5 separate regions of the Homo sapiens genome follow, and regions 2, 3, 4 and 5 are each linked to region 1. Evidence: promoter capture Hi-C in human tissues and cell types (Jung and others, 2019). All regions are on one chromosome and are shown on one strand. Each heading gives the region's core, a stretch centred on a gene start or on the middle of the fragment in contact. The rest is flanking DNA. Distances are from core to core; before and after follow the strand shown.

Region 1 (4,001 bases), core at 161-2,660:
GAGAAGGAGCATTTTGGAGACAAGGGCAGCTTTCATTTGCTCCTGAGATTTTGATCTGGGGCTTTATCATTTGATCCAGAGCTTGGAGGCTTGCATCTTTGAGAACATTTTAGGTGGAATAAATGGGTGGGCAGGATGGAGCTATTCATATCTCAATACTCACAGTGTCCCTGCCAGTGCTGGAGTCCGACTCTGCCTGCACAGGAAGCACGCACCCAGCAGCTCATGCTGACCGTCATGGATTGAGTCTAGATCCCAGAATGAGCGTTCTTGCCACAGCAAGTACTGCTAGGAAGTCACCTTTGAGGGGACTCCACCTGACAATGGTATTTGCAAGACCCCTTCCCGGGACTGCAATGCACACGCATACACACACACACGACATTTTTTCTGTCATCAAGCAGCTACAGGAGACCACCATATTATTCCCAATTGGCCACCAAACACATCCTTGTTACCACACTTCTTTGAGCTTGAGTTGTCATTAGTTACCTGGGACCTCGGCGTGTTTTCGTCTTCCCTCCCTCCCTTCCTCTCTCCCTCCCTGTGAGGTTAAGAAAATAAAGATAATAACAGTGAAAATCTGGAGAACCCCACATGCTTCCTGCAGAGTGCTTTAGGAATAAAAGACATTAATGTCAGTTTTTTCCCCTGTAATTAAAATGTCCTTTAAGGAGGACTGCACACTTGACTGATGCACCCTGGGCAAAAAGCCAGAGGGCCAAACTGACCTGTGGAGACTTGTAGGGGTGGCACCTAGGGAGATCAGAGGCATTTCTCTATCCCACGGGGTAATGTGGGGTGTGAAAGCCACCTGCTTCTCTCTCCCAGCACCTAGCAAATAGTGCTCTGGAAGTAAGTCCCCCTCTGCCCCATCCACAGCCTCAGTTCCTTTCTGGGGGTTCATCGGGGGAGGGAGGAAACTAGGGGACCCAGCGGGCCCTCCCAGCTGTCACAGGCACGTGTCCCAAGGCAGCCGATTTTGCTTTTATTGCTTGCTCGTCTTGAGGTACTCCCATAGGCTATTTGGGGCTTTTCTGTATCGTTCTTTTCACTTTCCCCTTTACTCTGTCAGCAGAGGCTTCTCCAATGAATGCAACCTCCCTAGTCTCCCTTTCCCCGACTGCCTCTCCCCTCCAAAACACTCCAGCCTATCCCAATCACATGCAAATGCAAACAGACATCTCCCCTCTGGAGTGGATTCTAGCGGATCCTCTAGTTGCCTGAATTACAAAGTTGGTCCCTTGGTTAAAGCATTCCTTCACTGGCTCAGCTTGCTGGAAAGACTTTTAAGAGAAAGAAGAGGAGACAGACCCCAAGGTACAGAAACCCGACCTACCACGGCTTGCTCCTTCCCTTTCCTCGCAGAGGTTTTCTCTCCAGCCCTGGACTCCTGTAGGATCTCAGCTCTGAGCTCCCCACAGCTCCGGCCTCCTTTAAGTTTCCAGGCAGGGGGTGGGGTCGGTGGCCCCGGCTGGGCGGGTTTCTGTGTGGCGGGAGGATGCTCAGTGGACAGGGCCATGAGGGAGCTGAGGCAGGCCTGTTTTTATAAAGCAGGGGGAGGAAGTTCACGGTGGAAGCAGCACAGCCCATCCTGGCTTCGGGCCAGGCTGATTATTCACAGCCGTGATGTCATTGAATCGCAGGAATTTGGAAGTGGGATGGGACCTTAAGAATCATCTTCCTTTAGAGTCCTAGTGTCCCAGGCTTAAAAGGGACTTTCAGGACCCTGTGATGACAAGAAGTGTTTATAATTCTAAAGGCAGCAGGTTGGGGCTGGGAGTGGGGTGTCTTCTGGAATCTGTGGCTGTAGCTCTGGCCTCTCAGGACATGAGAGGTTAAAAGGACTGGAGGATGCACAAGGATTGGAACACTTTGTGTGGTGGCGGGAGCTCAGGGGGGTAGCCACTGAGAAGGCAGGACCAGCCTTGGGCTCACCTGCGGTAGGAGGTGCCCCCATGGGGGTTTGCTCCGGTAGGCATCTTTGGCCCTGTTCTGTAATTTTAGGGAGAATCTTTCTCTTCTTTGTAAAGTGCAGGGCTGCAGTAGGTGGCCTCCGGGGACTTTCCGGCTCCAGCATCCCCTTGAGTGGGCCCAGGGAATATACACAGGGCCTTGGGGCCAACATGCCTGAAATTCGATCAAAGCCATCAGCCCTTAAGCCCACCGAAGCCTTTCAGTATTTGCTTGTAAAATGCCCCTGGAAATAGACAAGCCATTTCCCTTGCTGACACCTTTTCAGATGACTGAGAAATAAAAGCCCTGTCGTGTAGGGGAAAGTCTTAGGTTTAAATCCGGCTGTGCCAGTAACTGGGATATGACCTCAATCAAGATTTTCAACTATGCTGAGCTCTGGCTTTTGCATCTGCAGGTCACGTGAGGATCAGAGAGAAGCCACGCATGTCAGGGCCCTGGCACATCACAGGGCTCAGCAGGAGCATCTATCATCATTGGTTCATGTCTGGCTGAGACCAGACCTTGTAAAAATGAGAGAGAGGTGAAAGAAAGAACGCAGGGAGGGAAGAGAAGTTTGGCAGAGGAAATTGTGGGATGACCGACTATTCAGGAGAGGCCAGATTTCATACATTCTGATCCTAAATATACTCATATTTGTCAAACCATGAGTGCTGAGTTTGAAGTTGAAAGGCACCTAACTGCTTTTCACATTGCTTTCAAACTGTTTTTCACATTTTTATGAAGCTGCAGCCCTGCTGATGGTCATTGTAGAAAAGGGGCACTGGGGTGGGTTGCCTGCTGAGCACGGGAGGTAGACCTCCCATGAGCAGCAGCAGCTGTGGGCCTGTCTGGTGGGCATGGGGCTGCTTTCCTGCAATGTGGTCTAAGATGGTGAGGATGGAGGCTTTTTTGGGGGGTGGGGCATTGCCGTTCAGCAGGGAGTGCTGGTCATGAGGACTCTCATTTGAACTCTTGAGAGGATGGTTTTCCACTGAATGGTTGCACTTAAATCCTGGATCCTGAACCTCTATGGAAAACAATATGGAGATTTCCCAAACTAAAAATAGAACATCCATTTGACCCGGCAATCCCACTACTGAGTATCTATTCAAAGAAAAAGAAATCATTACATCAAAAAGACACCTGCACTCACACGTTTATCACACACAATTCACAACAGCACAATTCACAATAGCAAAGGCACAGAATTAACCTAAGTGTCCATCAATGGAGGACTGGATAAAGAAAATGCACATATACACCGAGGAATACGACAAAGCCGTAAAAAACAATGAAGTCTGTCTTTTGGAGCAACATGGATGAAACTGGAGACCATTATCCTAACTGAAATAACTCAGAAACAGAAAGTGAACAACCACATGCACTCACTTATAAATAGGGGCTAAACAACGGGAGACTGAGAGGAGAGGGTTTGCAGATCATTAGCAGGGGCCCTGAGCTTTGCTGAAATATACCCGAATGATTAAGACCCAGCAATATCCTGCAGCCCTAGAAACTGGGGCCTCTGTGTTCCTTCTGAATTGAGATTGGTTTCCCTCGGACAGATTCTGGGGAAGCCTGAGAATGCAGAATTAGGCATGGGCAGGCTGATAAGGTGACAATGGGAGCCTTGATTTTAGTCAAGGGATCACTTCGAGGAAAAGAAAAGAACAGAAAAAAAGGAAAAAAATCTTGGTGACCTCACATCCTGTGAACATTTCATCAAAGCCCTTCATTTTCAAAAAAGAGAAATAAATCCAGGCCTAGATAACACGGAGACAAAGTGGGCACAGAGAAACTGGACGGGGAATTGCTGCAGGGCTTTTCCCAGCCAGCCTGGCTGTTTCTGCAGTGGGCGCCTCCCCCACAGAATGCATGAGTCATGGAGGTGGCGGGGGCAGAGAACAGGGGCTGCTCCAACCCTTCTCACTGGGGCAGGTGGCAGGATGGGTATTCGAACGAGAGCCATGCTGGGACTCTGCTCAGCTGGGTAAGAAATGATGTGATGTCTCTGGAAACTCAGAGAAAGGAAGAGTGGGCAAGAA
Region 2 (3,927 bases), core at 1,220-3,719, 140 kb before region 1:
ACTTTCCCTCTAAGACATGATCATAGCAAAGATATCTGTTGTCACCACTTCTCTAGTCAACATGGTACTATAGTTTCTAGGCAGAACAGTAAGGAAAGAAAATAAAAAGGCATCCAAATTGGAAAGAAAGAAAGCTATCTTTGTTCACAGATGACATGATCGAATATCTAAAATATCCTACAAACAACTGCTAGAATTAATAGGTTTATCAAGGTTGCAGGATATAAGATCAATATACGGCCAGGCATCGTGGCTCATGCCTGTAATCCCAGCACTTTGGGAGCCGGAGGCGGGCGGATCACGAGGTCAGGAGATCGAGACCATCCTGGCCAACATGATGAAACCCCGTCTCTACTAAGAGAAAAAACTAGTTGGGCGTGGTGGTGCACACCTGTAGTCCCAGCTACTTGGGAGTCTGAGGCTGGGGAATCGCTTGAACCCAGGAGGTGGAGATTGCAGTGTGCCGAGGTCACACCACTGCACTCCAGCCTCCAGCCTGGCAACAGAGTGAGACTCCGTCTCAAAACAAACAAACAAACAAACAAAAAACAAGAAGTGGGCTGGACGCGGTGGCTCACGCCTGTAATCCCAGCACTTTGGGAGGCCGAGGCGGGTGGATCATGAGGTCAGGAGATCGAGACCATCCTGGCTAACACGGTGAAACCCCATCTCTACTAAAGATACAAAAAAATTAGCCAGGAGTGGTGGTGGGCGCCTGTGGTCCCAGCTGCTCGGGAGGCTGAGGCAGGAGAATGGCATGAACCCGGGCAGCGGAGCTTGTAGTGAGCCGAGATCATGCCACTGCACTCCAGCTTGGGTGACAGAGCAAGACTCTGTCTCAAAAAAAAAAAAAACAAGAAGTGTTGGTAAGCATGTGGAAAAATTGGAGTCCTTGTGTAGTGTTGTTAAGAATATAAAATGGTGCAGCCACTGTGGAAAACAGTATAAAGCTTCCTCAAAAGTGAAAAATAGAATTACCATAAGATCTAGCAATCTCACTTCTGGATATATATACAAAAGAATTGAAAACAGGCCAGGCGCGGTGGCTCACACCTATAATCCCAGACTTTGGGAGGCCAAAGCGGGCGGATCACCTGAGGTCAGGAGTTGGAGACCAGCCTGGCCAACATGGCGAAACCCTGTCTCTACTAAAAATGCAAAAATTAGCTGGGCGTGGTGGCGCAAGCCTGTAATGCCAGCTACTTGGGAGCCTGAGGCAGGAGAATTTCTTGAACCTGGAGGGCAGAGGTTACAGTGAGCCGAGATTGCACCACTACACTCCAGCCTGGGCAACAAAGAGTGAGACTCCGTCTCAAAAAAAAAAAAATTGAAAACAGAATCTTGAAGAGATGTTTGTATACCCATGTTCAGAGTAGCAGTATTCACAGTAGCCAAGAAGTGGCAGCAACTCAAATGTTCATCAACAGATGAATGGATAAACAAAATGTGGTATATACATACAGTGGAATATTATTTGGCCTTAAAAAGGGAAGGAAATTCTGACATACGCTACAACATTGATGAAACTTGAGGACATTGTGTCAAGCGAAATAGGCCAGTCACAAAAATATAAATATTGTATGATTTCCCTTACATAAAGTAGTCAAATTTACAGAAACGGAAAGTTGTATAGTAGTTGCCAGGTCCTGGAGGAAAAGAAAAATGAGGAGTTATTATTGAATAGGTACAGATATTTGGTTTTACAAGATGAAAAGAGTTCTGGAGATGAATAGTGGTGATGGTTGTACAATATCAATGTATTTTTAACACCCATCAAGTGAACACCTAGAAATTGTTAAGATGGTAAATTTTATGTTTTGTGTATTTTACCAGAATTTTTTTAAAAAAATAAAGTGTATTTCTGTATACTAACAACAAACAATTGGCGATTAAAAAAAAACTAGCTTTGTACAGTTGCTTAAAAGTATGAAAGCTTTGGGGATAAATCTGACAAAATAAGTGCGAGATCTGTTCATTGAATGCTGCAAAATATTGCCAAGAGCTAAGAACTAAGAAAATGGGGCCGGGCGTAGTGGCTCACGCCTGTAATCCCAGCACTTTGGGAGGCCGAGGCGGGTGGATCACCTGAGGTCAGGAGTTCAACCAGCATAGTGAAACCCTGTCTCTACTAAAAATACAAAAAAAAAAAAATTAGCTGGACCTGGTGGCGGGCACCTGTAATCCCAGCTACTCGGGAGGCTGAGGCAGGAGAATCACTTGAACCTGGGAGGCAGAGGTTGCAGTGAGCAGAGATCACCCCACTGCACTCCAGCCTGGGCAACAAAAGCAAAACTTTGTCTCAAAAAAAAAAAAAAAGAACTAAGAAAATGGAAAGATACACCTTGTTTTGTGGTTGGAAACCTCAATGGTGTTAAGATATCAATTATTCCCAAATTCAGCTATGGATTCAATTGTAATCATAATCCCAGCAGGCTTTGTTTATAGAAACTGACAAGCAGGCCGGGCGTTGTGGCTCACGCCTGTAATCCCAGCACTTTGGGAGACCAAGGCAGGCAGAATACCTGCAGTCAGGAGTTCGAGATCAGCCTGGCCAACATGGTGAAACCTTGTCTCTACTAAAAATACAAAAGTTAGCTGGGCGTGGTGGTGCACGCCTGTTATCCCAGCTACTGGGGAGGCTGAGGCAGGAGAATCGCCTGAACCCAGAAGGCAGATGTTGCAGTGAACTGAGATCATGCCACTGTACTCCAGCCTGGGTGACAAGAGTGAAACTCCATCTCAAAAAAAAAAAAAAGGAAAAGAAACTGACAAGCAAATTCTAAAGTCTTATGAAATACAAAGTACAGGATTGTCATAAACTTTGAAAAAGGACAAAGTTTGCTGGATTTATACTACATGATTTTAAGGATTCTTATGTTTTCTCATGCAAGGTTTATTAGTGAATAGCACTAATACCTACCATACTATGACATAGGATTGTTGTGAGAATTTTTAAAGTTACTACATATAGTTGTGGCACTAAACCAATCTAAGTTATATAGAGACCACAATGTAAGTGTTAACTCTTATTAGAGTTGTTATTATTTGTAGTATTTTAATTTGCATTTCCTTGATTACTAGTGAGATTGACCTTTGTTTATTGGCCATTTGAGTTTTCTTTTCTGGGAAGCTCTTCTTCAAGTCTTTTGTCTATTTTTCTATTGGATTGCTTATATTTTTCATAGTTCTTCATATATTCAAGGTACTGATACATGTCAGTTCATGTATGTTGCATATTATGTCCCCTAGTTTTAAGCTTTTCCTTTCAGTCTTTTTAAGCGTGTCTTTTGTCGAGTGGAAGCTCCTATTATTCGTTTACATAAAGGTATCCTTTCCCTTTTTTGTCATTTGTGCGATGATAATTGGTACCCTTATCTTGCTTCTAATCTTAGAAGGAATGCTTTCAAATTAAGGGTGATGTTTGCTATAGGTATTTTGAGGATCCTCTTTATGAGGATGAAGAACTTCCCTTCTATTTCCACATTGCTAAGAGTTGTTTTGTTTTTTGTTTTGAGACAGAGTCTTGCTCTGTCACCCAGGCTGGAATGCAGTGGCACAATCTTGGCTCACTGCAACCTCCTGGGTTCAAGCGATTCTCCTGCCTCAGGCTCCCTAGTAGTTGGGATTACAGGCACGCCTCACCACACCTGGCTAATTTTTGTATTTTTGGTAGAGACAGGGTTTCACCATGTTGGCTGGTCTTGAACTCTTGACCTCAGGTGATCCTCCCGCCTTGGCCCCTCAAAGTTCTGGGATTATAGGCATGAGCCACCACGCCCGGCCTCTTGCTTGGTTTTGTATCAAAGTTATGCTTGCTTCATGAAATGAGAAAGGAGCGTTCCTTCTTTTTCTATACTCTAGAACGTTTTATAGAACATAATTATTTTTTCTTTAAACATTTGGGAAAATTCATCAATAAAAGCATCC
Region 3 (3,759 bases), core at 1,077-3,576, 160 kb after region 1:
CAGGAGTCCGAGCACCAAGCCTATGGGAATGAGCATGAGCAAGATATCTAATGAAGATGAGAGCTCTAGGCTTCTAAAAGGAAATTGGCTGCAAAATGAATTCAACTTAGGTAGTGAAATAAACCATTCTCATTCCATATCCCCTTTTTTTGCAAAACCTCTTCTTGCTATCACCACTTACTAGTCTTAAAGGTATGCCTCTTCATGTGTTTTTCAAGTTATATTCAAGACACAAATTCCTTTAAGCTAATAGTAATCAAACCTTAGGAAAGCCATGGTTATTCCAGATCATCTTGTGCAATCATAGTCTTTAGATAATTGAGCTATACTATATTCCTGTGAATATAGTAACACTCAGAAGAAAAAAAGTTTCCTCTGCATTCAACTATTGGTTTTATATACGGTGAGTGCCATTCAGATTTCAGTATTTTGTGCAAGTTTGGCCTTGGGTGATTTTCTGTGAAATATCTGCAGTAAGAATTCAAGGGACAATAGGAGATACCATGGCTACCCCGAGGAAATGAAAGAGGTTTTATTTCCGACACTCAGTATGAAGCTACCCAAATGAAATGCCAAACAAAGCTAATCCACTCAATCTAATACAGAATTTACAGTAAAACAGAGAAATTCTTTAATATTAGCACTTCAGAAAAAGTGCAGGAAATAAAATTAGCCTTGAGGAAAGGAACAAAGCCATGAGATAAAATCCTATTACTGATGTGACAAACAGGAACATCATTCCCTGTGGTATCTAGACATCCGCATCCGCAAGGTAATACCTCCTGGTAATTCCAGGTGGAAATGACTTCTGATCCACTTGAAGGTGGAAGTTGAGTTGGAACTTGTTAGTGCCTAAGAAGGTAGGTTTCATATTTTGAAGGTAAACATATTTCATTAATCTTTCTTCCATAGGAACAGCTAAAGAATTAGTTTAGATTTTAATTTTTCTATTTTGCTGAGTGAAAAAGTATGGCTTTTAGTGGCATGTGTTAACTTGACCACTCTTGAGGACCAGAAGCTTGTCACTTGTGTATTTTTCTTAGAATGTAGCATTTGATACTTTTAATTGGAAATTTGGTGGTGCTTATATCTTGTTTTACATATGTATGGGTTGCTGACCAGTCCAGATTTTTTGTCCATTTTTCAGGAAAGGGAAAAGATAAAACAGACTTGGATAACTTTTGTTTGGAAATTGTAGAAGTATAATGAAAAATTACCTGTGAAGGAAGAAAGTGATCCCCTCATTTTCTGATCTCATATTTTTCTTATTTTCCGTGTCTTTCTCCCTTCTAGTGTCTGAGAGATTTCTTCAATTTCAAACTCTTTTACTTCTGCTACCTATCATTTTAAATTTTGATTTAAACCTTTCCCTGAGGGTTTTCTATAGTATTCTGTTCTTACTTCATGGATAGAGTATCTTCTGTTATTACTGGAAGCTTTTTTGTTTGAGACTATACTGGTAGCTTTTTTGTTTGTTTTCTTCTTCCTGCATAATCATCGTTTCTTCCACGTTGCTCTCTTCTGTTTATTTTGATGTCTGTGTTTCGTGTTCAGGGTTTTCTTTGATTAGTTTCTTGCTTAGAATCACACAAAGACCAAATCCTCATAATGAGAATCCTTATTTGCAGTTTTGTGTAGTTCTCTAATTATCGTGAAGTGTAATAGAAAGGTAGGGATAGTGTATTGCTCACAGAAGCTGCTAAGTTAAAAGTGCTCAGAATTCTAGAGCTGCTAACATTAAAAACAAAAATGGCCTTGTGTTTTACTTGATTAAAATTAAGCCTTAAGTTTAGAACATCTTTAAACTTGGTTTAAAATGTTCATTTTAGGGTGTTTGCCAGCTTCCCAGTAAAAATGATGAAAAAGAATATCCACACAGAAGAATTGATATCAGGTATTGTTCAGACTTTGTTGCTGACCTGTTAACTTTTCCAAACTTGTCTCGTTTTCTCCCTCCCTGTTTGTATCTTGGAGTTCACATTCATATCTAGAGCCTTTTTTTACTCCCAAGAGCCATATGTTCTTGCCAAATGCAATGTTTAGCTCCAAAGTATGTAAAGAATAATGACTGTCTACAGACTCCAATTTATTTTCTCTAGATTTGCACCTCACCATGATGCCTTCCACAGCTCAAAAGTCATTTCCTGCCTGGGCTAAGTTAGTTGTAATAGGTGATAATGCAATTTCATTTCTCCACATCTCTTTCAGAACAAAGTTCACAGAAACCTAAACAAATTACAAGGTTGGGGTGATTTGAGCAGTCTACCTCATGATAGTCTTCTCTTCAAATTATTAGACCACTTAGGCTTATCTTTGGTATTTTGTTCCTTATTGATTTTAGGAGTCCTATATTTGCTAAACTTGAAATGCATGGTAAAAAAATGTATCTACTGTCCATTTTTTTTAGGTTGATACCCAAAGATCAGTATTACTGTGGTGTTCTCTATTTCACTGGGAGTGATATTTTCAATAAGAATATGAGGGCTCATGCCCTAGAAAAGGGTTTCACAATCAATGAGTACACCATCCGTCCCTTGGGAGTCACTGGTGAGTGTCCATGTGTGTATTAGAGATCATCTCTCATCTGGAGAGAAGGTTATTTTCAAAGATACTTTGGTTTAGCAAACCTTCTAATAACTATGCCAGTTAGTGTAGTTTCTTTGTATTTTTAGTCCTTCAGGCAACGAGAGAGGATTTAATGCATAACATGCTCCTAGGCCCTCAGTTGAAGGCCATCAAGGCAAGCGTTAGTTCCAGCTTTGTTAAAATGGATTAAATCCTTGCATGCTCAGTAAAATATCTTATTCATCTAAAAGGGTTTTTTTTTTTTTTTTTTTTTTTTTGCTGTTGTTTAATGTACCTCTAGGACCCCTGAAAAACTCAAGTATCATTGTTTTCAGTGCCACATACTTTGCTTTTAGTGCCATGGTATCTTTGGCCCCATGCTTTTAAAGTTTAAAGAATAAGGATTGCTGAATCTATGCTTAATGGGTTCTGTTAACATTTCACAGTATACTATGTGGTTTACTGTTCTCTACTAGGAGAATGAATTTTTGTCATTTTGTCCTCAAAGTATAAAATACTTTGTCCTCAAAGTATAAAATACCTCATCCCTGGTAGACTAGGGCAGTGCTTCTCACAATTCAGTGTGCATACCAGCAACATGGGGGCCTCACTAAATTCAGATTCTAATTCCTTTGGCTTGCAGTGGGGCTCAGGATTCTGCATTTCTAGTAAGCTTCTAGATCAGAGGTTACCAATCTTTTAGCTTCCCTGGGTCACATTGGAAGAAGAATAATTGTCTTGGGCTACACATAAAATACACTAACACTCACGATAGCTGATGAGCTTTAAAGAAAAAAATCATAAAAACATCTCATCGTGTTTTAAGACAGTTTACGAATTTGTGTTGGGCCACATTCAAAGTGGAGCTGGGCCGCATGCAGCTGGCGGGCCATGGTTGGATAAGCTTGTTCTAGATAATGCCAGTGCTGCTAGTCCAAGAACCGAGTTGCAAAGGAACTCACTAGAGTATATAATACATAGTGGCTCCAGCAGAAAGGACAATCATGAGTGAGGATGACTTGAGTGGCCCTAGCTGGGATCCCCAGGTTCCCTTTGTGGCACTGATGACTCACGAGATGAAGCTCCAGCACAGCCTCCTGGGAGAGGATAGAGGTAGTCAGTGTCTTTTTTTTTGAAATGGAGTTTCGCTCTTGTTGCCCAGGCTGGAGTGCAATGGCACATTCTCGGCTCACT
Region 4 (3,974 bases), core at 1,103-3,602, 130 kb after region 1:
AAAATGCTATTAACTGAGATGGGGGAAAGTTAAGGAGAAGCTGGTGGGGCAAGAGTCAGGAGTTCTTTAGGACATTTTATCTTTGAGATGCCTATTATGGACTAGAGCTATCCAGTAGACAGCCTGATGTATGAGACTGGAACTCAAGGGAGAGGTCAAGACTTGAACTATGAGTTTAGGAGACTTTCAAGCTAGACATGCCATTTAAACAGGTAAAACTGGACAAGTTGGAAAAGCTGGTTAGAAGACTGAAGTGTGAAGCCATTTCCCATAAAGGCTGGAGAGTGGAGGAGGAGCTGGGAACCAGTGCTCAGGCGCACATGTGCGCACACACACACCCTGCTGAGGACTGGCCAGTGAGGAAAAAGGAAGCCCAGAGCATGTGGAATCTTAGAAGCCAATTGAAGCAAGTTATTTCAAGAAGAACTTTGTGAAGCAGATCAAATGTCGGTTGTTCTAAGACGATAAGGACAGATAATGGATTATTTTCCTTGGTTTCTCTGGCACTAATTTTAAAAATATAGTATTTGTAAAAATGGGCTAGGTGCAGTGGCTCACGCCTGTAATCTAGCACTTTAATAGGCCAAGGCGGGTGGATCACTTGAGGTCAGGGGTTTGAGACCAGCCTGGCCAACATGGTGAAACCCCATCTCTACTAAAAATACAAAAATTAGCTGGGCATGGTGGCAGGATCCTGTAATCCCAGCTACTCGGGAGGCTGAGGCAGGAGAATCACTTGAACCCGGGAGGCAGAGGTTGCAGTGAGCCGAGATCGTGCCATTGCACTCTGGCCTGCGGGACAAGAGTGAAACTCTGTCTCAAAACAAAAAAATTTGTAAAACTGATCCCACAATTCCCTACATTTGTAACTTTTAAAATTCAGAGGTAAATACATTTTTATTTAAGGAGGAATAATTCTTCAGAGCAAAATAATCTGAATATCACCTGGAATAGAGATTGGACAGAAAAAAGTGTGAACAGGGAAAACTAGGACAAGTCATATATGTAAATGAGAGTATAAAGAGTAAATGAGAGTGGTCACTGCTCACTGCAGCTTAACTAATCAGATAGTTAAGTTGCAGGCATAAAGTTTTTTTAACTTTTATTCCTCAAGTAATAAATTGAGGAAAATACAAATATGTACAAAATTTTTACAAAAGCTATCCATAAAAGGGCAAGTAGTAATATATAGAAAAGATCTACCAGATTAGTAACAAACTACCCCCATTAGGAAAATGGTAAATGATATGAATAGGAAATTCAAAAAAAGAAGAATTACAGATTTCCAATAAGCATAACTTAAGATATACACTGATATTGTAAGGAAACACAATCACCACAACCTTGCTAATCAAAGAAACTAATGATATTTATTGGAAAATAATGGGAATTTTTAATAGACTGGGTTAGAAGACTAGAAGTGTACGTCCCAAAATATTAATAGTTCAGCTGTAGGGTGAGATCACTGATTTTAATTTTCTCCTTTTATACATTTTTCCAGATTTCTCTACAGCAACTACGTATCATTTTGTAATAAATTTTAATTTTTCGATGCACAAAGCAATTGCCTGGAATTGCAGTTCGATATGAACCCAGGAGTTACGCTTGTAAAATAAACTATTGCTGATGTGACATTTCCATTTCTCAAGCAGACTGTAAATTTCTCAGATGTAGGTCATCATGTTATAATTAGGGTTCCATTGCTCATGATCTAGATGAAACACTTCTCCCTTTCTTGTGGTCTCTTCATTAATTTGGTCCCTACCGCAAAGGCAGGGGGATTAAAAATAAAATATCTTTTGACACTGGTTGGCAGGTGTACTAACACGTGTGCGGGAGGATTCCTGTTCTCGGCATGGTTCACGCCGGGCTCCGGCAGCGCCCTAGTACGTAAGGGGCTGCACTGGAGTGTGGACTGCCCGGTATCCTTAGAGAAAGTTTTGACAGTGTGACGCCAGTGTCGCCTCTAACCACGTACAAAACGCGCCATGCATTGGGTAGCTATTACAGTGCACATTTTTGTGCAGGAAGCTACCCCACCAGCGCAAGTATTTCAGAATCAAGATCGCACTCCCGTTTCCCCTTCTAGGGAAAGGATTCCAGATAAACACTGAGAAAACAGATTTAATATCTTAGGTCAAAACTCCAGGTCTTCCCATAGGAAGGCCCCTGGGCTGTCATTCTGAGGTGCCTATTTCCCCCGCGCCGTGTCCACGTCCACGAGTCCACGAACCCTCCGAGTTCTCTCTCCTCACCTGCCGAGGGCTCGCCCCTCTAGCCCCGCCCCGCCCCGCCCAGGACGCGTGACGTCACAACAAGCGCCGTGCGCCCCGCCCCCCATCGGGGGCAACCATTGTTCCGCCGGTCGCGCCGGAGCTGGGTTGCTCCTGCTCCCGTCTCCAAGTCCTGGTACCTCCTTCAAGCTGGGAGAGGGCTCTAGTCCCTGGTTCTGAACACTCTGGGGTTCTCGGGTGCAGGCCGCCATGAGCAAACGGAAGGCGCCGCAGGAGACTCTCAACGGGGGAATCACCGACATGCTCACAGGTTAGCACCGGGCCGGGCCCCGCTGGCTTTCTTCTTTCCTTCCAGCCTCTTCCCCTGCCTTCCTTCTCTCCCACACCGACAGTCCAGTGGGTAGGGTAGGTTCCTTGCAGCGGGTCGTCTTCCGTGGGGATCTCCCTCCGGCGCCCCTGGCTGGTTGTCAGTCCTGCCGGCTACACCTGGGCCATCGCTTGGGCTGCTTTTGGTCTGGCCCTTGGAGGAAACGGGTGGTCACTGTCTCTTAGAGGCTGCCATATCCCCTTCCAGAAAACAGTTCTCGTTTGTTTACTCGTGGTTCTTGTTCACCCGAGCCTTCTGTTGCCTTTCAGAACTCGCAAACTTTGAGAAGAACGTGAGCCAAGCTATCCACAAGTACAATGCTTACAGGTGGGACAGTGCAGCATTCTCGGGTAGCATACGTTCTGGGATACCCTGTTTAGTGTGGCAATTAACAGGACTGAGGGCCCAGTGGATATTTGGTCCATCTGCAAGAGCGGGAAAAAGCAAGAATCGAGGCTGGTACCTTACTATTTCTTGAAGAATGTGGGCAGTGCGTTATAGGATCAGTTCAGATAAGTTCCCAATTCTGATTGCAGATAGCTGTAGCCTGATACGTATTTTGTCATCATCAAACATGAATTACTAGAAATGCGGTGTAATTTTAACCGTAATGAAAGACAGCGGATGAAGTCCATACTGTGAAATATATGTGGTTCAAGGAATCACATTTTTTCTTTTGGTTGGTCTAAAGTTGATCCTGTGGGATCCTGATCCTGATCCTTGTTCCTTGTTCATGGGATCCTGTCCTTGTTCATCTCACCAGGGGCCTTATCCTATTCATTCTTTCCACATCCACCTGCTTCTACTCCTTAGCCTATATTTATTTATTTATTTATTTTTATTTGAGACGGGGTCTCGCTGTGGTATGATCATGGCTCATTGCAGCTTCAACCTTCCAGCCTCAAGTGATCTTCCCATCTCAGCCTCCTGAGTGGCTGGGACTACTACAGGCGCACGCCACCACACCCAGCTAATTTTTTTTTCTTTCTTTTTTTTTCTTTTTTTTTTTGTAGAGACCGGGTTTTGCTATGTTGCCCAGGCTGATCTCCAACTCCTAAACTCAAATGGTCCACACACCTTGGTCTCCCAGAGTGCTGGGATTCCAGGCATCAGCCTCGGTGTCAGCTCTCCTTAGCCTATAAATATGTGCAAGTCCCTCAGCTCTTAAAAGCAAAACCAAAACAATCTTAACTTCCCTCTAGCTAGCACCTTCCCTCTTTTCTCACTTTATGGTGAATCTTCTTGAAAAATCTTCATTCCTTGCCTGGACTTCTTAATACCTAATCATTTACTCAAGAAGTCCCAGTCCTTGCCTGGACCTACCAGTGCTCTGAAAATCCGCTCACCTACGTCTCATCTTATTGGACTCTCTG
Region 5 (4,081 bases), core at 1,498-3,997, 190 kb after region 1:
TTTGATAAACAGAACATAACTTCCCAGTTGTCTCATCTGCCTGTAGAACTAGAGTTAGGGGACAGGGCATTTGTTAAGGAGAGGATTCATGTTGCAGGCAGTGAAAAAGACTGGTCAGGGTTGGCAGCATCTCATTACTGTTGGCAGGATTTCAGAAATGCTCCCTAAAACAGGACCAATCAGAATGTTTTTTCTTGACAGTTCATAGATTGTCAGTGACAGGTGCTGTCTGCTTTCCCCAGAAGGAGGTCCATTTCTAATTGCTTATTGTCATATGACTTAAAGGGCACTGAACTAGGGCAAAGGATGTATTTTATTTTATTTTATTTTTTTGAGACAGAGTCTCATTCATAGTAACTGTTTGATAGAAAGCACTCTTAAAGGTAGACAGGATAGAAAGGGGGAAAGAAGGATAAATTATAGCATTCTACTTTATTTTGAAAAATGGGTAGTACTTTCAAATATTGAAATTGTCTAAGCAGAAGTTTTGCAGTTTTGCACACAAAAGCATTAAAGTTTTCACAGCAGTGTGACTGTACTTAATGCCACTTCACTGTACACTTAAAACATTATTAAAATGGTAAAATGTATGTTACATGTATTTACCACAATAAAAAAAAACATTTTTAAAAGGAAGTAGTAAAGTGTTGACCCTATTAAAAAGGAGGAGGGCAGTATTTTGGGATTTTTAAGGACCTTGAAATTAACTGATAGTTTGAAACATATAGCAGAGAACTGATAATCTTTTTTTAGGTCATGAAAGTAAAATGTTTAAGATACAATATTTTTGGTCTTTTTAGTAAAGGCATTTGTTTTCAGTAAAGATACTTCTTTTTTAAAGGAGAGAATTTAGGATTACCATTTGGTAAGAGAGTATATGGAACAAGAGATATTAATAAGAGAAGTAGAGTAATGGAAAGATCTGAAACTGGTATTGAGCTGTCTCACTCCGTTGCCCAGGCTAGGGTGAAGTGGCATGATCTCGGCTCACTGCAACCTCTGCCTCCTGGGCTCAGGCTGGGACTACAGTCACGTGCCATCATGCCTGGCTAATTTTTTGTATTTTTTGTAGAGATGGGGTTTTGCCATGTTGCGCAGGCTGGTCTTGAGCTCCTGGACTCAAGGGATCCACCCGCCTTGGCCTCGTAACATGCTGGGATTACAGGCATGAGCCACTGCGCCTGGCAGAACTGGTTAAAATATTTAGGGACTGGAAAAGCAAGGGGAAAGGAGGAAAGAAGTTGCTCTAGAGTAGGGCTGTGGCAAGCAGTAAATGGTATTGTTTTTGATACATTGAACACTGCTTTCCAAAGTGAATATTTTCTATTTGATGAGCTAATTTTAAAGTAATTATTTTTTCTTGCTTACCAGGAATTTTCTACTTCTGGTCATGCTTACACTGATACAGGGAAAGCATCAGGCAACCTAGAAACCAAATATAAGGTCTGTAACTATGGACTTACCTTCACCCAGAAATGGAACACAGACAATACTCTAGGGACAGAAATCTCTTGGGAGAATAAGGTAAGAGAACGCATTAGAAGTTATTCATAGGTTCAATTTATCTTGTAGATTGAATGATGAACATACCCCAAATATAATCAAAAGAGATCTTACAACCTATCTAGTAGCCATATTTTTTCTCTGCATGTGGCCTTTTTTGATGTCTTATGTTTCTAGAAAATAAGGCTTTGTTTGTGAGTACTCTAATTACTATATTACATCTTTGTTCTGACTGGTTCTCTGTTACACAGCTAAGCTTCTCCTGGGTAGAACAAACTATTTGCGGAAATTTGGTTTAGTTTTGTAATTGTTGAAAAATTGGCTTGACAGAAAAATTTTTCTAAAATGTTCTCATGTTTTCAAGGAGAAAATCTATTAGATATAGTCAAGTGCCCACTATGTACAGGGCACTGTTTTTGATAGAGATACCATGTATAGATAATGTACATGCAAAACTGAGTAAAATGACTTAGCCTGCTTGTTAAATGTCAGGTTATCTCATTACTGCTCTTTCAAGAGAGTATCAAGATGATTTTGTTGTATGGGAATTCTGTTTGGTTTTGAACTGTATTTTATGTAACTTGCTAAAATAGGATTTGCCCCATTTTTTAGTGGGAGAACCATGATGAAGGCTGGGGTGAGGGGACAGGAGGATGGAGAGCTTACTTATTACATAATTTAATATTTTGCTTTCTTGAATGACTCCTTTTTTTTGTTAAAGAACTCAGGAAACTTTAGAATTGGTTTCTTGAGTTGGATAAATGATTGAAAATTACTAATTATTTATTTTAAATCTTTGTTTTTCAGTTGGCTGAAGGGTTGAAACTGACTCTTGATACCATATTTGTACCGAACACAGGGTAATTATTCAAATCCCATTTCCTGAAACGTTTTTGGAGCCTGAAAGGGTAGAGAGCTTTAGAATAAGGAGATATAGTGCAAAGTTCAGAGGCAGGAAGAACTCAGAAGGTTGCTATAAGGAATATTGGAGACCTTGTATAGGTAATACAGATAAAGGAAGATCCCTCCCCACCAAGGCAGGATGAACAATTTGAAAACTGAATAGATGAGCAAAAATGTATAAATGTATTTGAGAGAGACACATGGTAGAAAAAATTTAGGAGCTAGAAGAGTCTTGAGACCATAGATGAATCTTAAGCAATTCTGAAGATTGATGGACATGGTATTCTGCTGAGAAAGTTAATTCCTTTTGGCTGGGCGTGGTGGCTCACGCCTGTAATCCTAGCACTTTGGGAGGCCGAGATGGGCGGATCATGAGGTCCGGAGATGGAAACCATCCTGGCTAACACGGTGAAACCCCATCTCTACTAAAAAATACAAAAAATTAGCCAGGCATGGTGGTGGGCGCCTGTAGTCCCAGCTACTCAGGAGGCTGAGGCAGGAGAATGGCATGAACCCAGGAGGCGGAGCTTGCAGTGAGCCGAGATGCACTCCAGCCTGGGCAACAGAGCGAGACTCTGTCTCAAAAAAAAAAAAAAAAGTTAATTCCTTTTTTTTCCCCCTCACCCTCTCTTATGGTGCTGAAAAGTTAATTTCTTAAGAAGGTGATCTGGCTCTCAGATGCTATAATGATTAGTTCTGCTGCCTACTTGATTTCTTAGCCTCTGTAAATCCCCCAACTTCTTGACCTCAATTTCCTCGTGAAAAAAAGGGGGATTGTGTCATTTCCTATCTGCCTAATGTGGGTCCATGCTATCTGAAGGACGGAGGTTGCTAGATGAATGCAAAGTGACATTTGTCTCAGCCGTAACAACAGGTGTGTTCTTTTTGCCACACACTTCAGTTATCTTTAGGACAAATATTCTTTTCTTTTTTTTTTTTTTTTTTTTTTTTGAGATGGAGTCTTGCTGGAGTATAGTGGCACTATCTCAGCTCACTGCAAACTCTGCCTCCTGGGTTCAAGCAATTCTCCTGCCTCAGCCTCCCAAATAGCTGGGACTACAGGCATGCACCACCACGCCCAGCTAATTTTTGTATTTTTAGTAGAGACGGAGTTTTACCACGTTGGGCAGGATGGTCTCTGTCTTGACCTCGTGTTCCGCCTGGCTCGGCCTCCCAAAATGCTGGGCTTACAGGCATGAGCCACTGTGCCCGGCCAGGACAAATATTCCTACAAGAGGCTTGATTGGAATAGGGTTATTAAGAACTAATTTCATTTTTTCAGTATTGTCCTTCAAAAAAGCATGCTTCTCTCCATGATAGGTTAATAATGTATATTGGGGATTAATTCTTTGTGGCATTTGGCATTTGGAAACATTTAAAGAGATTTGGCTTCTTGTACGTCTGTATACATACACCTTCAGATTATTAATTTGGCACTGAAATATCTTATTCATTCTTTTTTTTTCTTTTGAGACGAGTCTCGCTCTGTCGCCAGGCTGGAGTACAGTGGCATGATCTTGGCTCACTGCAACCTCTGCCTCCCAGGTTCAAGTGATTCTCCTGCCTCAGCCTCCCAAGTAGCTGGGACTACAGGCGTGTGCCACCACGCCCAGCTAATTTTTGTATTTTTAGTAGAAACGGGGTTTCACCATGTTGGCCAGGATGGTCTCAATCT

What was found. The method cuts DNA at HindIII sites, captures the fragments that hold promoters and counts their contacts. A contact is called where the count stands out against the background at its distance.
Region 2: a contact is called between a fragment that was not itself captured here and the fragment with the promoter of PLAT in region 1, in 3 of the 25 tissues and cell types used here (H1 embryonic stem cells, bladder and heart right ventricle).
Region 3: a contact is called between a fragment that was not itself captured here and the fragment with the promoter of PLAT in region 1, in 11 of the 25 tissues and cell types used here (H1 embryonic stem cells, IMR-90 fibroblasts, dorsolateral prefrontal cortex and 8 more).
Region 4: the fragment with the promoter of POLB here is called in contact with the fragment with the promoter of PLAT in region 1 in 14 of the 25 tissues and cell types used here (H1 embryonic stem cells, IMR-90 fibroblasts, adrenal gland and 11 more).
Region 5: a fragment that was not itself captured here is called in contact with the fragment with the promoter of PLAT in region 1 in 1 of the 25 tissues and cell types used here (lymphoblastoid cells).

The regions. Positions count from the first base shown.
Region 1 is chr8:42,206,155-42,210,155 of GRCh38, forward strand. PLAT (plasminogen activator, tissue type) reads right to left here and starts at 1,411. Exons shown (of 14, transcript NM_000930.5): 1 at 1,340-1,411. RefSeq lists enhancers at 1,912-2,430, 2,431-2,949. The HindIII fragment of the contact is 37,434 bases long and covers 1-4,001 here.
Region 2 is chr8:42,061,664-42,065,590 of GRCh38, forward strand. All of the region lies in intron 1 of KAT6A-AS1 (KAT6A antisense RNA 1), which reads left to right. Among named protein-coding and RNA genes, the nearest start is that of KAT6A, 12 kb to the left of the region's middle. The HindIII fragment of the contact is 4,701 bases long and covers 120-3,927 here.
Region 3 is chr8:42,367,442-42,371,200 of GRCh38, forward strand. POLB (DNA polymerase beta) reads left to right here. Exons shown (of 14, transcript NM_002690.3): 12 at 1,830-1,894; 13 at 2,408-2,547. Among named protein-coding and RNA genes, the nearest start is that of DKK4, 7.9 kb to the right of the region's middle. The HindIII fragment of the contact is 3,911 bases long and covers 372-3,759 here.
Region 4 is chr8:42,336,142-42,340,115 of GRCh38, forward strand. POLB (DNA polymerase beta) reads left to right here and starts at 2,353. Exons shown (of 14, transcript NM_002690.3): 1 at 2,353-2,544; 2 at 2,871-2,928. The coding sequence starts at 2,484. The HindIII fragment of the contact is 25,945 bases long and covers 1-3,974 here.
Region 5 is chr8:42,397,341-42,401,421 of GRCh38, forward strand. VDAC3 (voltage dependent anion channel 3) reads left to right here. Exons shown (of 10, transcript NM_005662.7): 5 at 1,372-1,524; 6 at 2,311-2,363. Among named protein-coding and RNA genes, the nearest start is that of VDAC3, 7.5 kb to the left of the region's middle. RefSeq lists a silencer at 3,841-4,060. The HindIII fragment of the contact is 4,382 bases long and covers 557-4,081 here.